Regions from separate parts of the Homo sapiens genome. Here all the other regions are linked to region 1. The links are contacts of gene promoters, found by promoter capture Hi-C in blood cells and fetal thymus (Javierre and others, 2016). All regions are on one chromosome and are shown on one strand. Each heading gives the region's core, a stretch centred on a gene start or on the middle of the fragment in contact. The rest is flanking DNA. Distances are from core to core; before and after follow the strand shown.

Region 1 (2,931 bases), core at 171-2,670:
ATCATCTTTACATGGTTCCTACTTTTTTAAAAAAAGTCTGTATTACTTTATGAATAAGAGCCACTGTGGCTACACAAGAAGGAAAAGGAGGGGGAGAGGGAACGGGAGTTTTAAAGCCAGAACGTGAGATGAAAGCAGATTTCTCCCCCTCTCCCTTCTTAAAAAAAAAATGCATCCCAACCTTGTGGTCTCATCCACGGAAACATTTGAGAAGGAGACGAGCTCTGATTTAAGTGGTCTGGGTCCTCGCCAATATTACCACTGGACGATTTACAGTCAGGATATTGTACCAGCTCGGCCTCTTGCTGGGTCGTAAAAATCGGCTGTCTCTGTAAGTTATCGTATCCGTAAAACTTCGCGGGCTCCCCGTGACAGGCAATCCCGCCGCAGGGGGGAGGTGGCGGCGGAGGCGGAGGATGCGGAGGAGGAGGGGGGGCGGCCTGGTAGGCAGCGGCCGGGCTGCCCCCGCCGGGGTGGAAGTACTCCTGGCCCCGGCCTTCCCTACCGCCGCACCCAGTCCCGGAGGGCGGCGGGGACGGGTGCGGGTGCGCGTGCGCCTGCGGGGGCGCGTGCGGGAAGCCGGCGGCGCTGTTGCCATAGAGCTGCAGGGCTGCTGCGGCGGCGGCGTGACGGCCGCCGACCTCGGGCGCGAAGTGACAGTCGTAGTAAGTGGGATTGATGGCCTCGCCCGCCGCCGCCGCCGCCGCAGCCGCCGCCTTGTACTTGGAGTACAGCGGGTTCACGAAGTACGAACTCATTGGGGCGTCAGCGGCGGCGGCCCCGGGCGGGCGGGCGGCGCTAAGCAGCCAGAGAGCGAGCCTCGACTCGGCCGCACTGCCGCGGGGGCCTGTGGGGCGGCTGCTCTCGCCGCCGGGACCGCCGGGCTACGTCGCTGCTGCCGCCCGCCCGCGCTCGCGCGTCGCTTCTGAGGCCAGGCAGCCGCGGGCGCTCAGCTACTGGGCGCTCATGCCCGGCTCTTGCGCCCGCCGCCTCGGCTTCGCGCCGCCTCCCTCGCGGGTCGCGGGGCCTCGCCCAGCCCCCGCGCGCCGCCGCCCTCCCGGCCTTTCCCGGCGCGCCCCGGCTCGGCCGCAATATAATCGCCGACGCCCCAGGCGACCTGCCCCGCTGCCTCCACTGTTTCCTCTCAGGCACCAGTGACTGAGCGCACCCGGACAAGAAAAAAGTGCGCTCGGCCCACGGGGACACTCTGGCCTCGGTTTACAAACCCCGGCTCTGGAGGGAAAAGAAAAAAAACACCCTCTGCCCGCCGCCACCTCTTACCGCGCCCCCCCCGCGCCCCCCTCCCGCCAATCTCGCCCCCGCCGCCGAGGCTGCCGACCCGGTGCGCACCGGCGAGGCATTTTCGCACCACAGCACTGCACGGAAAGTCAGCGTGACGGGGACGAGGAGCCCCGCGGAGGGATCCGCGCGCAGTTCAGTCGCTACGGCCGACGGACGGAGCGCCGCGCCCGGCCCGAGATGCCTCCGCCGGCCTTAAAGGGGGCCCATAAAGACGCACTGCCAAGGGCTCCGTGTGCCCCGGGGCCGCGGGAATGCGGATCGCAGCCGGCAGGGAGGGGCCGCGGCGGAGCCTTAGACTTGGGGGAGCCAAGGAGGCCACTCCCAGGAGGCTGCGGAGCAAATGACTGCCTCCCCGAGCCCCTGGCTGCAAAAGCAGAGGTTGCCCGTGGCTTTTGCAGCTCTGGACACGCGGGTGCAGCCCAGGGAACGTGGACAAGAGGTGTTGACGGACCGGACCGTGCATTTGAGTTGGGGCATATCGAAGTGGTTTAATTAAAAGCCGCGAGTGTGGCCCCAGATCCTGGCGTTATCAAAGCAAATCAAAGCCTTTCTTTTCCAGCCGAGCGGGCCCTGTGGAAATGAGATGTACATTTACCCTTGACGCACCGCAAGCCTGGCCGAGGCTCTCAGGTTAATTGATATTTAATGGAAATCATGCCCATGAATATAGTTTCCATCATTTCACCCTTGATAGACGTCAGCCCTGGGCGCAGGGGGAGGCTGAAGAATGCAGGAGGGGGCATTAGGCTTGCTGAGAGAGTAAATAGAAGAGCGGACAGAAACGTTCTGAGGCGGGAAAAAGGGCTCGCGCTGGGGAGGGTGACATTTCCTCGGGCAGGACGCGGCTCCCGGGTCTCAGCCCCGGCGCGCAGCGAACCAGGGCCGGCTGCGGTTCCCGGAGGAGTGCGGAGGGCAGACGACCGCAAGTTCCCCCCAGGAGCCTCCCAGCCGGCGTTCAGATCGCGCCGGTTCCAGGCAGCTGCAGGCGGCCCATCTTATGCTAACGATCCTACTTCCTCCGCCAAGCCTGTGAAATTACTGCCGAGAGAGCGCGCAGGCCTCAAAGTTACGAATTTTTCCCAAAGCAGAGAAAGAGAAGGCTCAGCCTAGTTTGTGAGCAGAGATGAAGAAAAGTTGCCCGAGTCATGTGGCCCAGTCGAGTGTGAATCGACAAAATATTCCCGATTTTAGCAGCTCTCTCCAAAGCTGTCTGGCTTTACCCTACCAACCGCCTCCCCACACACTTCCTTTCCCTCTCTGCTCCCGTTTCAATGTCCAATAAATGCAATGGTTCTCTGTTGTGTGTGTGTGTTTTCCCCTCTCCTGCTCGGCCTTTCTCGTGGGCTCTTTGGGTGACTGAGCCCCGTTTCCTTCGGGATAGGTACAATGTCGTGAGGGCGCCAGGCCCACAGCCTTGGAAATAGACCTCCAAGGCGCCCCTGCTCAAGCTAAACGCACCACGCCGGCTTTCCACACCAAATGCAAATTTCCGAAAACCCCAGACGGCCTCAGAGATGCTGCAGGCTGGCGAGCGATTTCAGCTACCCCTAGCTCCTTGTGGGTTGGCCCAGCCTGCGAGCGCGATCCTGACTTGTGTCCGGGTGGACTGAAATATCATTTTTACAAATG
Region 2 (2,931 bases), core at 187-2,686, 1.3 Mb before region 1:
GTAAATACCGTATTTTTAAATTTCTGTATTGCTGGTACAGTGTGTATTTTGTAAAGACTCATGTATGTTGAATTAATTCATCAGAAGCAAGTATAGCTTAGGAACTTGGCCATGAAGTCAATTTGATGTGCTTTCAAATTCTAACCTGTCACACAGCATATCTGCTAAGACTCCAGCAGACTTAATTTATTCATCTGTAAAATGGGAGAAAACCGCACATACCTCATAGCTTGGGAAGAAACAAAGGATTTAGCACACTTTGGCACACTTAAAAGTACACTTTAAACATTAGCTACTTATTTTTTTCACTCTCGGTTTATCCATTTATCCACGGTGACAAAGCCACACGTCAGAAAGTAGCTTCTCCTAATAGCCTTCATCAGAGATTGAGGAGATCGAGACCATCCTGGCTAACACGGTGAAACCCTGTCTCTACTAAAAATACAAAAAAAAAAAAAAAGATTTCTCCAAAAACATCGAAAGTCAAGATCTCTTACAAACATCCCTCATCGGTTAGACTCTTGTCTTTTAGCTTCTGGTTACACAGAGCTCAGTAGCTATACCACCACACCTTAAACCACTAGCTAGTGTTTGCAGTTTATGGCTTCTTACCATTCATCGGTTTCCTCCCTCAAAGTCAATACATCTTGATCCTAAGCAAGTGGAACTTACCCCACAGAAACCAGTCAGCACCTTTTTCCAGGGCACCACCAGTTTCCCCCACAGCAGGCTTTCGCGAATGAGAGAGATTCCTATGATCTATCATCTAGTACAAATTTATATCTCCTCGGAGAAAAATAGAACCTCTGCTACCCATTCCAAGACCTCAGCACCAAAAGTATTAATTCAAGATAAAAAATGAATTCCTGGCACTAAAAGCTCAGGAAAAAGGAATCCTTTAAACCCTTCTCCAACGAGAGTTCTTCAAGCCTGTTACCCTCACATAGTGACCAAAATCCACCATCCCATCCCGCCCCCTTCCTGACAGAATCCAGGGTCTAGTCCACTCTCTCGAAAGAGAGGTGGGTCCCTACTTTCAGGGACCGGGATGCCTTCCGCCCACCCGTGTCACTTCCCTTCCCACCTCGCCTGTGCCCTCCTGCAGCACAGGCCCGGCCTGGTCCCTCGACGCTAACTCCTTCCACATACCGCTACTCACCGCTTCTTTGGGATGGTGCCCGACTCCTGCGCGGCGGGAGTGGCCGTGGGCGCTGCCGTGGCCGCCGACGCGGCTCTCCGCGCTTTGCACTCATTGGTACTCAGAGCCTCCCGGGGCCGGCCCAGCAGATGGCCAGAGAGAACCCGCAGCCTCCGCCCGGCGCGGTCCGGGTCCGGGTCCCGGTCCCGGTCCGCTGCAGACCCGTAGCTCGCGCCCGCGCCCAAGCCAGTCCCACCCGCTGCAGCCGCCGCCTCCGCCATGGCTACCGCCTTGTGCTGCCGCCCGGAACCGCTGGGCGCGGGTGAAAGGTCACTCAGAGCGGCGCCCGGCGCGACCATTCGCTGCGGCGCATCCCGGCAGCCACCGCGGCGACTTGGCGGCGGGTGCCATGCGTCTGGAGCTTCACATTCTCTGCCCCCCACCCACCGCGCCGGCGCTCCCTTGTCACGCCTCGGGAAGCGCGCACCTGCCAAGCAGGTGAGTTCGAGCTGACTCCCGGTTGGCCCAGCCCGGTCCAGCTGGACCGAGAGCCAAACCACGTCCGCCCTCGAGGTGTCCTAGAACCCTGGGTGGTGTCCTCGGGTGTGGCCTGGGGGCTTTCGAGGGCAGATGCCTTGGAGCAGGAGAAATGGGCAGTGCTACTGGACCTGATGGATCCAGCGGCATCCTTTTCCTGAAAGAGATTCTAATGTTCCACCTGTGCTCTTCCTCCCTGCGGGGTCACCAAAGTAACTCAAAGCTGACCATCATTGCCTCTAACCATTAGAGCAAATAGCTCTATCATTTTCTTATTTCTCACCACCTATTTCGTGCCTGGCACTGTGTTTAATGCTAGATCACAAGTAAGTACAGAAACTGAGTTGCAACTTAAGTTCTCATTTCATTCATTACTGGATCCTAACCCCTTCCTAACTTTAATAGAGATAAAGTTTCTTATTGCTACAGACAAAAATTACCCAAGAGCTGTGAAGACATCTCAGTTATTTACAGATTGAATTCATTTCTGGAAGATAGCACGTGAAAAGTGCTCCTCACCTGTTTCAGCCGGTGTCTTGCATAAGAATTAGCTTAGACAAAAACTCACATACACTGGCCATTGTCATTCTCCATCCTGTCACCACTTTCACATCATGCTTTCCTAACAAGAAAAATATTGGCAGAGGAATCTGAAGAACACCACATCCATGGGACTAGAGACTAACAATTGCTCTCTTGGGTGTTGCCAGCTTCTAAAATTGAGATTATGCCTTTAGAGTGAACTTCCAAAGAGGCCCAGACTGGTTAAAAACTCTCAATTAAGGGCTAAGCAAATTGCTGTTGGAGGGCCAGCTCTAGTCTGTGGCCTGTTTTTACACAGCCCTCATGCTAATGGTTTTTGTATTTGAGAAGGGTTGTTAAAAGAAAACAAGAAATTTTTTAAAAGAATATGCAACAGAGACCTTATGTGGTCCCAGAAGCCCCAAAATATGTATTACCTGGCCTTTACAGGAGGTCCGAATGTCTTCTGAAATTTATATACGAAGAGATACCAAACCATTGAAAACAGTCCAAATGTCTAGCAACAGAGAAATGGTTAGTCAATATGTTAAAATACTTTTGCAGCTATTAAAATAATTTAGTACAGTTGTAGAAACAAGAAAGAATTAGGAATTTGTTAAATATAAAAAATGGCCATAACCTAGGCATCTTATACGTATCTATTTAATCAATCTTTGCAGTAACACAATGACACAGTTTTATTATCCTTATTTTATAGATGAAGGCTCAAGGAG
Region 3 (2,931 bases), core at 167-2,666, 1.2 Mb before region 1:
ACTCCCTCAAACTAGGGAGTTTCAGCCTCTTCAAACAAAGGAGAAATAGCTTTATAATAAAAGCTTCAGCTGCAAAGAAGGCTGAGAGTTTGGGGGCAAGGAATCTCTGCGTTCTTCAAATTCTCCCCTATATAGCATTTTAATTTTAAAGATCTTACTCTTTCGGAATCAGCACTTTAACATATGCTCTTCTAAGACCCCAGGTAAGGAGGTGAATTCGACTGATTTGCAAATCAGCAATCAACAAGAACAAATATTGGTTTATAGCTATCTCCATCCTAGGGCTATAAAAGTTTCTTTTAACAAATTCACAGCTTGGGTTTCAGTTCATGTTTTAAGATGAGAATTTAGAGATTTTCATTTGTTAATGTCTTCAAATGAAGCAGCTAGCCTTAGCACCCAGCTCTTGAATTCCTCATTTCCTTCATACTGTTCTGTGACAACAGCAATTCTCTCCCCCATGGTCTTGTCTTTAATACCCAACTCAATCCTAATGCTCACAGGCATTAATTTCATTAGCTATTTTACTACTATAAGCTGTGGGTTTCCAGAGTCTCATCTTTGAATATTAATTGGTTTTTATTATCTTCAAACACAATGAGTCTGCATACCCAGATTCTCCTGATTTCCCTGAAAGTCTGTTGTGTGTAACCGAATCCCCATTACCAGTTTCTGTACAAGTCAGAATTCCTATTTGCCAGCATTAGTAACCAATTCTAGGTAGATTAAATAGAATGGAATTTACTGAAAGAGTAACAGTATCTATATACAAAGTTATTTGGGAAAGTTAAAAATCAGGCTCAGAAATCAGACAGGAGCCAAAGGAGGCTGGCAGCAGATGAATCAGCCAAGGACCACTGAAGGAATAGTCTGATTAGAATGCTGCCAGAACTTGGTGAAGAACTGTTATAGGAAGAGCCTAAATAGAAACTAAGGACAGTGCCACCACCAGACATTCTCTTCTCCTGAATTACTGACATCATCACTGTCTCAGTAGATAGCTTGATGGTTTCTGCATCTTTGCATCACTCCTTCTGGATTCAATGTGGGAATCCCACTGGACAAACTTCAGTTATGTGCTGATGTCCTTGCTGTCTAGAAGAGGAAGATATGCCTTTTTTCAGTTCCTATAACAGGAAAAGTGTTGAGATGCCAAATACCAAAGCACACAAACCCCAGACACACAAACACATCCAGGACACCATACTTGGGTTTGTTTCTGGACTCACTGTTTTATTGGTTTGTTTGTTTATTTTGCTGTCATTATGCTACTGTTTTAATTTCAGCTGTTTTATCTTTTTTAAAAAATCTAGCAGTTAAAATCCTCCTTCCTCTCAAATGGTTGTCTTTTTTTCTTGACTCTTTTCAGTTTAACTTTTCTCAAGGAACTTCAGAACTCTTTTGTAAAGTTTCAAAAAAAATTCCATTGGCATTTCCATTGGAATTGTATTATATTTATGAATATATTTGGGGAATAATTAAAAAATTTTTAAATGCCGAGTGTTCTTATCCAAGAACATGGTATATCTCTGTTTAAGCCTTGGCAATTTTATAGTTGTCTTCACATAGATTTGACATACTTATTAAGTTTATGTTTTTGTTATTCTGGTAATTACAATTTTTTCCACTTTGTTTTCCTTTAAAAGAGTTTCAAAGCCCCCCTTTTGGACCACAGAAAATCTTAACGTGTTATAACCTAACTATGCAAATAGCTCTGTGATTCTAATTTCTCTTTTAAGCAATATAAATCATTGAACTACATTCTTCCTATGTTTATCCAGCTTTCCTTACCAAATTAAATCTCATACTTTGTAGTGTAAATTTGAGTTTGAAAGTTAAAGGTAAAGAATGTTTTCCAGGGGACTAAAACAGGAAAAATACTGTCAACAGAATTGAATAAATTGGAAGATGGAGGCCACTGCGCTAGTACTACAGTGCCCCCTAGTGGAAAAAAGGAAGCATGGGCATGTTTATACCAAGAATGACCCCAGTCTCTCTTCCACAGGCAATTAGAATCTGGAGGTGTGTTAGTGGTCAACTAGGTCAACTCCTCTGGCTTCCAAAAAGGGAAACTGAGAAACAAAATGAAGAAATGACTGGCCCAAATTCACATTGTCAACCCAAGGCTTAAATCCAAGATTCCTAACTCTCATTTTTCTTCCTTTTTGCTACCCTTTCTTTTTTCTTCCTTCCTAGTTCAAAATATATTGTGCTCTTATTATAAAGCACAATATATTCTAGGAATGTGTTCTAGGAATACAGATATAAAGAAGATTTAGTCGTTGCCTTCAAATCTAGTTTTACTTCAAGCCTAATTTTTTTAGCCATTTTCAGGGAATGAATTTGTTGGGGAATGACCAAACAACTATGCAGGGGAAGGTTCTCAATCATCCACAAATTGACTCACAATATGATTAATTAATTATTGAGTTTTAACTGGAAAGTACAATCACAAATGTGAAAATTGCCCTTGATCAGATTCAGACCATTTCATGAGGAGGTAAGGCATACTTTCAAATGGCCTGCATTAACCTTAATCTTATTTCTCCTTTGCAGATTCAAAACTGTGGACTATCTTGCAAAAAATACAAGAAGATATTGAAAGTTTTCATGAGTGCCTACCACCTAATCTCAAACACTATCATTCATATGTGCCTCATTGAGCAAATCTTTAATGAGGATCTATATGCCAGGTATGTGCTAAGCTCTGTGCTTAGTGTGGCAAAGAGAACAGATATGGCCTTGAGGTTTCTGCTCTCACAAAGCTTATAGTCTCCTATTTGTGTATGTGTAATTCTCTAAAGCTCAGGAAAGCTGTTTTCCTCATTTTTCTTTGGCATCATATTTTTAGGCTATAGAAATCAGAAAGTACGCAAACATTTTCTAAAATTACTCTGCCCCACAAAAAGGGAAACAAAAATAACAATTTGG
Region 4 (2,931 bases), core at 245-2,744, 1.1 Mb before region 1:
TAATAGGAGTTAAAGAAGCTTGCTTCAATTACAAGTAATTAATTTAGGCTTCACTTATCTCAAGGAATATCTGAATATACAAATTTACACATAAATCCTGGGAGTGTCAAATTATGCAACCTAGAGAAAGTAAGCTCTGCAGCTTTTTGGGCGTTGATTGCTATAGTCAGGGGTGTGTGTGTGGTTTTTGAATGAAATAGCAAAACCACTGCCAGTATTATCTACTTCACCTGGTTTTGAATAATTCCAGGAAGCTAGAAACTGAAAACCAGTCTTGTATAGAGTTAGAAAGATTGTAAATGCAGAAGAGGAAGAAAAAAACAAAACTAAACCATTTATCTATCCTCTTTGAACCCTTATAAGAGTTCACAATATTCCTCGTTTCAAATACTTGAAGTCTTCTCTGGGCAATGATTAATTTTTAAATAATTGTTTTTAATGTAAGACATAAAACATACGCACTGCAGATTTAAAGCATACTTGGAAGTAACAAGGAGAAACATAAAAATCGTTGATTCCACAGCATTTAATATATTGGTAACCTTCAATTTTTTTCTAGGCACGTTTTTATAAAATGAGCCAATACTATACAAACGTTTTTGTAACTTTTTTTAATTTGTACTATTTTGTGAGTACGTGAAAAAGAAATTTGTAAAGAGTAAACGATTACAGCATGTTGTGGTATTACACACTGTTGAAGGGCGCCATCTGTGGCGTGGTGGCTGCGCTTTGGTGGGAAGAGGTTCTCTTGGGGTTCCCGTTTTTCTCCCAGCTCTGGGTGGGCAATACTGACCACTCTCCGACCTAAAGGGGCTTCTCCGTTTGCCTTTGACGACCTGAGCTTAGGAGAATGGAGACACGTGGGAGTTCAGAGGAGGGCGTTCAGGGTGACTGCGAACACGAGCTGCCGGAGCTGTCCACATCTCCCCTAGGCAGGGCCCACTGGCCCCAGCCCGGGAAGGGAGCAAGGGCGGGAGGGCAGTTGGCAGTGGCACGGTCTGGGTCCAAATCTTTAGCCCCCCCCACCCCGGCTGGCGCCATTCTCGGGCGGTAAAGTGAGATAAAAGCAGGGCAAGGTTCTGCAACTCCAAATCAGGGAGGCGCAGCTCCTACACCAACGCCTTTCCGGGGCTCCGGGTGTGTTTGTTCCAACTGTTTAAACTGTTTCAAAGCGTCCGAACTCCAGCGACCTTCGCAAACAACTCTTTATCTCGCGGGCGAGAGCGCTGCCCTTATTTGCGGGGGAGGGCAAACTGAACGCCGGCACCGGGGAGCTAACGGAGACCTCCTCTAGGTCCCCCGCCTGCTGGGACCCCAGCTGGCAGTCCCTTCCCGCCCCCGGACCGCGAGCTTCTTGCGTCAGCCCCGGCGCGGGTGGGGGATTTTCGGAAGCTCAGCCCGCGCGGCCGGCGGGGGAAGGAAGGGCCCGGACTCTTGCCCCGCCCTTGTGGGGCGGGAGGCGGAGCGGGGCAGGGGCCCGCCGGCGTGTAGCCGATTACCGAGTGCCGGGGAGCCCGGAGGAGCCGCCGACGCAGCCGCCACCGCCGCCGCCGCCGCCACCAGAGCCGCCCTGTCCGCGCCGCGCCTCGGCAGCCGGAACAGGGCCGCCGTCGGGGAGCCCCAACACACGGTCCACAGCTCATCATGATGGACTTGGAGCTGCCGCCGCCGGGACTCCCGTCCCAGCAGGTGCTGCCTCGGCCCTCTGGGCCCTGCGGTGGTGCCGGGACGGGGGCGGGGGAGCTAGGGAACCGCGGCCCGGGAGGGACAGCCGCAACCGGCTTCCCCCACGTCTGGCCAGAGCCAGGACCGCGGCGCTGGGTAGAGCCGCCGCGCTTGCGCCGGGGCAGGGCGGGGAGGGGCAGCGGGGACGCGGCCGGGTGATCCGACCGACCACGAGCCCGAGGGCGAACGGGTGGGAAGTTGCGGGAAGGTCTGGGGACTGAGCCCGCTCGCGTGGGCCTTGGGGGAGAATCCAGCCGCGTCCCCGGGCCCGAGAGCTGGGACTCCGGAGCCCCTAAGTTTGAGCGGCCCGGTGGGCGGCGGGGCAAGAGGGGGCGGACGCTGGCCGTCTGAGCCGGCGCGGCCCGGCCCTTCCGGGGCTGCGCGGCTCCCCCGCCTCGGTGCCGGCAAAAATGTGCCTAGTCACGGGGCCGCTCTCGGGGGAACTGAGGTCGCCTTCGGGCTGGGACCCGGAGCCCCTTCGCCGCGCCCCAAGACCTCCTTGAGTGCGGGCTGCGACGCGCTCACCCCGCTGGGCCGTCTGTGGGCGCGGCTTTGCGAAGTCATCCATCTCTCGGATCACTCTCTGGCAGCCTTGAGCTCTCTTGAAAGCCCAGCCCCGGGACGAGGGAGGAGCGCCTTAAGTGCCCAGCGGGCTCAGAAGCCCCGACGTGTGGCGGCTGAGCCGGGCCCCGCGCACTTTCTCGGCCGGGGAGGGGTTCGGGCTCGGGCACCCGGAGTTGGCCCCTCGTAACGCCGCGGGAAAGTGCGGGCGAGGGCAGTGGACTCTGAGGCCGGAGTCGGCGGCACCCGGGGCTTCTAGTTCGGACGCGGTGCCCCCTGGTGGCGCTCACCGCGCGCGTGGCCTTGGCTTCCGTGACAGCGCTCGGTTGGCCGTCACAGCAGCCCTCGGTTGGCCCTTTCCTGCTTTATAGCGTGCAAACCTCGCCGCGCCAGGGCCAAGGGACAGGTTGGAGCTGTTGATCTGTTGCGCAATTGCTATTTTCCCCAGAGCGGCTTTGTCTTTGGATTTAGCGTTTCAGAATTGCAATTCCAAAATGTGTAAGACGGGATATTCTCTTCTGTGCTGTCAAGGGTAAGAGTTGCGAGTGTAGATTAGAATTTCTGTTGCTTTTAGTCTGTTAGTAATTTTTTGCTTTCAGCTATTATTTCTCCCCTGAGTACTTTATATATGTTTCCTTTTCAGTT
Region 5 (2,931 bases), core at 197-2,696, 1.1 Mb before region 1:
TGTCTGACTATAAGAACGGAGTACAGCAAAACAAAAATTGAGATTTTTAAGAATTAAGATGTCTTGAAATTGTTTTATACTTTAGTCAAGACTTTTTAACACATTGCATGAACTGTCATTTAATGCATGCATTAAGGTTTCCTTCACCCGAAGTTCTTAAATAAGGGGCTCACATTTACATTCTAATGTCTTCCTGTGTCTCCTAGAGGTAGAGATGTTAAACCGTTTAATGTGAAGAGATTGTCACATGCTAGAAAAAAACGTTAATAGCCTAAAGCATTAATTCATGTAATCTCATCTTTTCAAGTCTTGGATAAATGTATTCGATTGACAATAACGAAATCGACAAAAATATTTAGGATCCACATTAAATGTACTGCAAAAACGTGAAAATTTCAACTCTGGTTGCAGTCCTCTAAATAAAATTCCAGGAAACTACAACCAGAGCCGACTCAAAGAATGGGAAAACATGAAGATAAAAAACATTTCTAAATTCTTCCTTAACATACTATACTCAAATTCTTCTCCACCCACCCTCCTCAGCGGCCGGAGCCGGGAAGGAGCTGGCTGGGTTGTTTTTCACATCTACACTCAAATTCTCAAAAATTAAGTCCTTCGCCCACATGGCGGTTTAAGAAGTGTAATGTAAGTACTTTAGCAAAAATATATCAGGAAGTATTTTAAAGCAGCAAAGTTTTTAACAATCTCGTATTTCCAACAGGATGCTGCGAAAAAAAGAAAAGGCCAATTATCGACTTCTCGCGGAGAGGACCCGTAAAAGGCCTAGAAAAGCGTCGGCAGAACTTCAGCGAAAGCACTACCTCCCCATGCTTCGAGGCCATTTGCGGCTTTTTCTGCCGGGCCGCCTCCGCCCTCTTCCCTCCAATCCCAGGCTCGCTTTCCCGGCGGCAGAGCGAGGCGGCGGCCATTGCGGGCCAATGCGCCATTTCGTAACGCGGCGGCGGATCAATGTCAATGTGGCCGCCGCCCGCTTGCTCGCTCGCCCGGATGTGCCTGCTCGTCCCCTCCCCTCCCCCACCACCTCCTCCCAACCGCTCCCGCCGGGGCCCGCCATGCCGCCCTCGGCCTCGCTTCGGAGGCCGCGCAGCCGGCAGGCCGGCTTCCCTCCCGAGGCCTCCCCGACCAAGCCGCGCCTCCAAGGGGCCGCCTGTGCAGCCGAAGGTGAAGGCGAGGCGGGCGAGGGGCCCCAAGGAGGTCTCCAACTCTCGCTCCCCTCCCCCTCCCACAGCCTGTCTCAACGCAAGAGCGCGGGACGGCCGACCCGGTCCACCCGGCCTCCCCGCTCCCACCGAACCAGGCCCCCAACGCCGGCCATTCCCCACCAACCCCCCGCTCTCCCCCTAATACCTCCTCCCCCCGGCGGCGACGGCGACGGCCGGAGTCGGGCTGGGGGCGACCGGGCGGCGGTTTTACCTCCATTTTGAGACCGGACTCGCCTCTTCCAACTCGAGTTCAATATGGGACCGAGAGGAAGAGGCGGGGCCAGTCGTCACGTGACGCGTTTTCCGCGCGCCGCCAGTCTGTTGGGGGAGGAGCGAATTGGGAAGGGGGCGGAGCCAAGCGGGCGCGAAGAGGGACTGGACCAGCGGGTTGGCGGGCGGAGGGCGGAGGCGCGGCGTGCCGCGGGAGCGCGCGCGCCTCGCCAGCTTTCAGGGGAAGAGGGCCTTTGCCGCCGTTCGCGTCAGGGCGAGTTCCGGGACGTCAGTGCGGTCTCCGCCAATGGTGAGCGTCCACGTAGAGGGAACGCCTTGTGATCGCGCGTCACCAGAGAGAAAGGCCTTTCCCTTTCTTCTCGCGCTTGTCCCTCATTCCCCACGCAGGCCTCTAGTTCTCCATTTCAGAATTCATTCTATTCCTGTGCCCGAAATAAAACCCACGTTTTTCTTGCTTGTAATTTAAAGGTTGCAAGAAAAACTCCTCGGCCCCTCGGACCATCTTTCCTGTTTCCAAATGCCGGGGACCAGTGTCTGTGACTGCGCCGCCTGCCTGAGGGCATGTACTGAAAAGCCCTGCGACTCCAACATGTGGGACTCACAAGCACCTTGGACAGGCCTCAAAACGCGGCTGACATACAGAATTTTTACCATTAACGACCTGAGGCAGGACTGGTGGAGGTCAGTTCATTAGTTACTGATCTCAAGAAACAAGTCAGGACTATTTTCTAATGTGCTTCTTTCAAGTTAGTGTGGAAAGAGCTGATGCATCTGTTGTAGCTGACGGAATTTAAGGAACTGAATAATTGACAAGATTTCCAGAAAAGCAGGGTCGCCAGATAATGCTACCTGTTTGCGAATGATTGTTACCGTAATGCTCTAGAGAGCTAATCCTTTCTCGGCCTAGTCAGATGATTTTAAATCATTTGATTTTACAGAGCTTTAGTTTCAGTTTTTTAAATGAAAATGGGGATGGGATTAGGTCATCTTCTAACACCCACGACAGCCATAAATTGATAATCTATGGATCCATATTTAAAGTTACTGATAAAAATAACCACAATTGACCAGCCTCCCTTCCCTGTTAGGAAATGCTTTATATTTTAATTTAGCAACCCATGTGACCAACCCTTTTAGAATTGAACTGGCTCTCCCTAGGAAAGGTTAGAAATCTAATCAGTTATAGTAAGTTTCTGTTAACAAATGGGGAGTGGTCGACTTGGAGTTTGGAAAAGGGGAGCGTAAAGTCTAAAAGTTTGTTAATTTATCTAGCCGTTGCTCCAGGAGGACCTGTGTTATAGTTTGGAAACATTTACAAAGGGTATTTTTGTGGGGCAGAAAACAGTTAGCAGTCCTTAATGTAATTTGGTTGAAATAACCGTTCAAACCAGACTCCTCCTGTTGCTTTGATTCCTTTTTCGCAAACTTTCTTATGTTCTACGTATCCAGGTGCTCCTGATGGCCAGCAATAGACTTG

What was found. The method cuts DNA at HindIII sites, captures the fragments that hold promoters and counts their contacts. A CHiCAGO score of 5 or more calls a contact.
Region 2: the fragment with the promoter of AGPS here is called in contact with the fragment with the promoter of HOXD8 in region 1 in 2 of 17 cell types (naive CD8 T cells and total CD8 T cells); the score reaches 8.6 in naive CD8 T cells.
Region 3: a fragment that was not itself captured here is called in contact with the fragment with the promoter of HOXD8 in region 1 in 1 of 17 cell types (naive CD8 T cells); the score reaches 6.9 in naive CD8 T cells.
Region 4: a contact is called between the fragment with the promoter of NFE2L2 here and the fragment with the promoter of HOXD8 in region 1, in 1 of 17 cell types (total CD8 T cells). The highest score is 5.1, in total CD8 T cells.
Region 5: the fragment with the promoter of HNRNPA3 here is called in contact with the fragment with the promoter of HOXD8 in region 1 in 2 of 17 cell types (total CD8 T cells and naive CD4 T cells); the score reaches 5.7 in total CD8 T cells.

Annotation. Positions count from the first base shown.
Region 1 is chr2:176,128,194-176,131,124 of GRCh38, reverse strand. It overlaps HOXD8 (homeobox D8), which reads right to left and starts at 1,420. Exons shown (of 2, transcript NM_019558.4): 1 at 182-1,420. The coding sequence starts at 758. LOC100129455 (a long non-coding RNA gene) reads left to right here and starts at 597. Exons shown (of 1, transcript NR_187615.1): 1 at 597-2,931. The HindIII fragment of the contact is 7,912 bases long and covers 1-2,931 here.
Region 2 is chr2:177,391,278-177,394,208 of GRCh38, reverse strand. AGPS (alkylglycerone phosphate synthase) reads right to left here and starts at 1,436. Exons shown (of 20, transcript NM_003659.4): 1 at 1,160-1,436. The coding sequence starts at 1,419. LOC100130691 (Putative uncharacterized protein FLJ44553) reads left to right here and starts at 1,518. Exons shown (of 9, transcript NR_026966.1): 1 at 1,518-1,636. RefSeq lists silencers at 1-8, 1,217-1,436. The HindIII fragment of the contact is 4,249 bases long and covers 1-2,931 here.
Region 3 is chr2:177,334,155-177,337,085 of GRCh38, reverse strand. It overlaps LOC100130691 (Putative uncharacterized protein FLJ44553), which reads left to right. Exons shown (of 9, transcript NR_026966.1): 3 at 2,557-2,693. Among named protein-coding and RNA genes, the nearest start is that of MIR6512, 22 kb to the right of the region's middle. The HindIII fragment of the contact is 2,702 bases long and covers 66-2,767 here.
Region 4 is chr2:177,263,290-177,266,220 of GRCh38, reverse strand. NFE2L2 (NFE2 like bZIP transcription factor 2) reads left to right here and starts at 1,494. Exons shown (of 5, transcript NM_006164.5): 1 at 1,494-1,689. The coding sequence starts at 1,645. RefSeq lists silencers at 1,351-2,220, 2,481-2,640 and an enhancer at 2,321-2,931. The HindIII fragment of the contact is 5,708 bases long and covers 21-2,931 here.
Region 5 is chr2:177,211,309-177,214,239 of GRCh38, reverse strand. It overlaps HNRNPA3 (heterogeneous nuclear ribonucleoprotein A3), which reads right to left and starts at 1,446. Exons shown (of 11, transcript NM_194247.4): 1 at 1,369-1,446. The coding sequence starts at 1,440. MIR4444-1 (microRNA 4444-1) reads right to left here and starts at 1,514; the gene lies at 1,441-1,514. LOC105373759 (a long non-coding RNA gene) reads left to right here and starts at 1,829. Exons shown (of 1, transcript NR_157853.1): 1 at 1,829-2,845. RefSeq lists an enhancer at 808-1,479 and a silencer at 1,019-1,808. The HindIII fragment of the contact is 9,993 bases long and covers 1-2,931 here.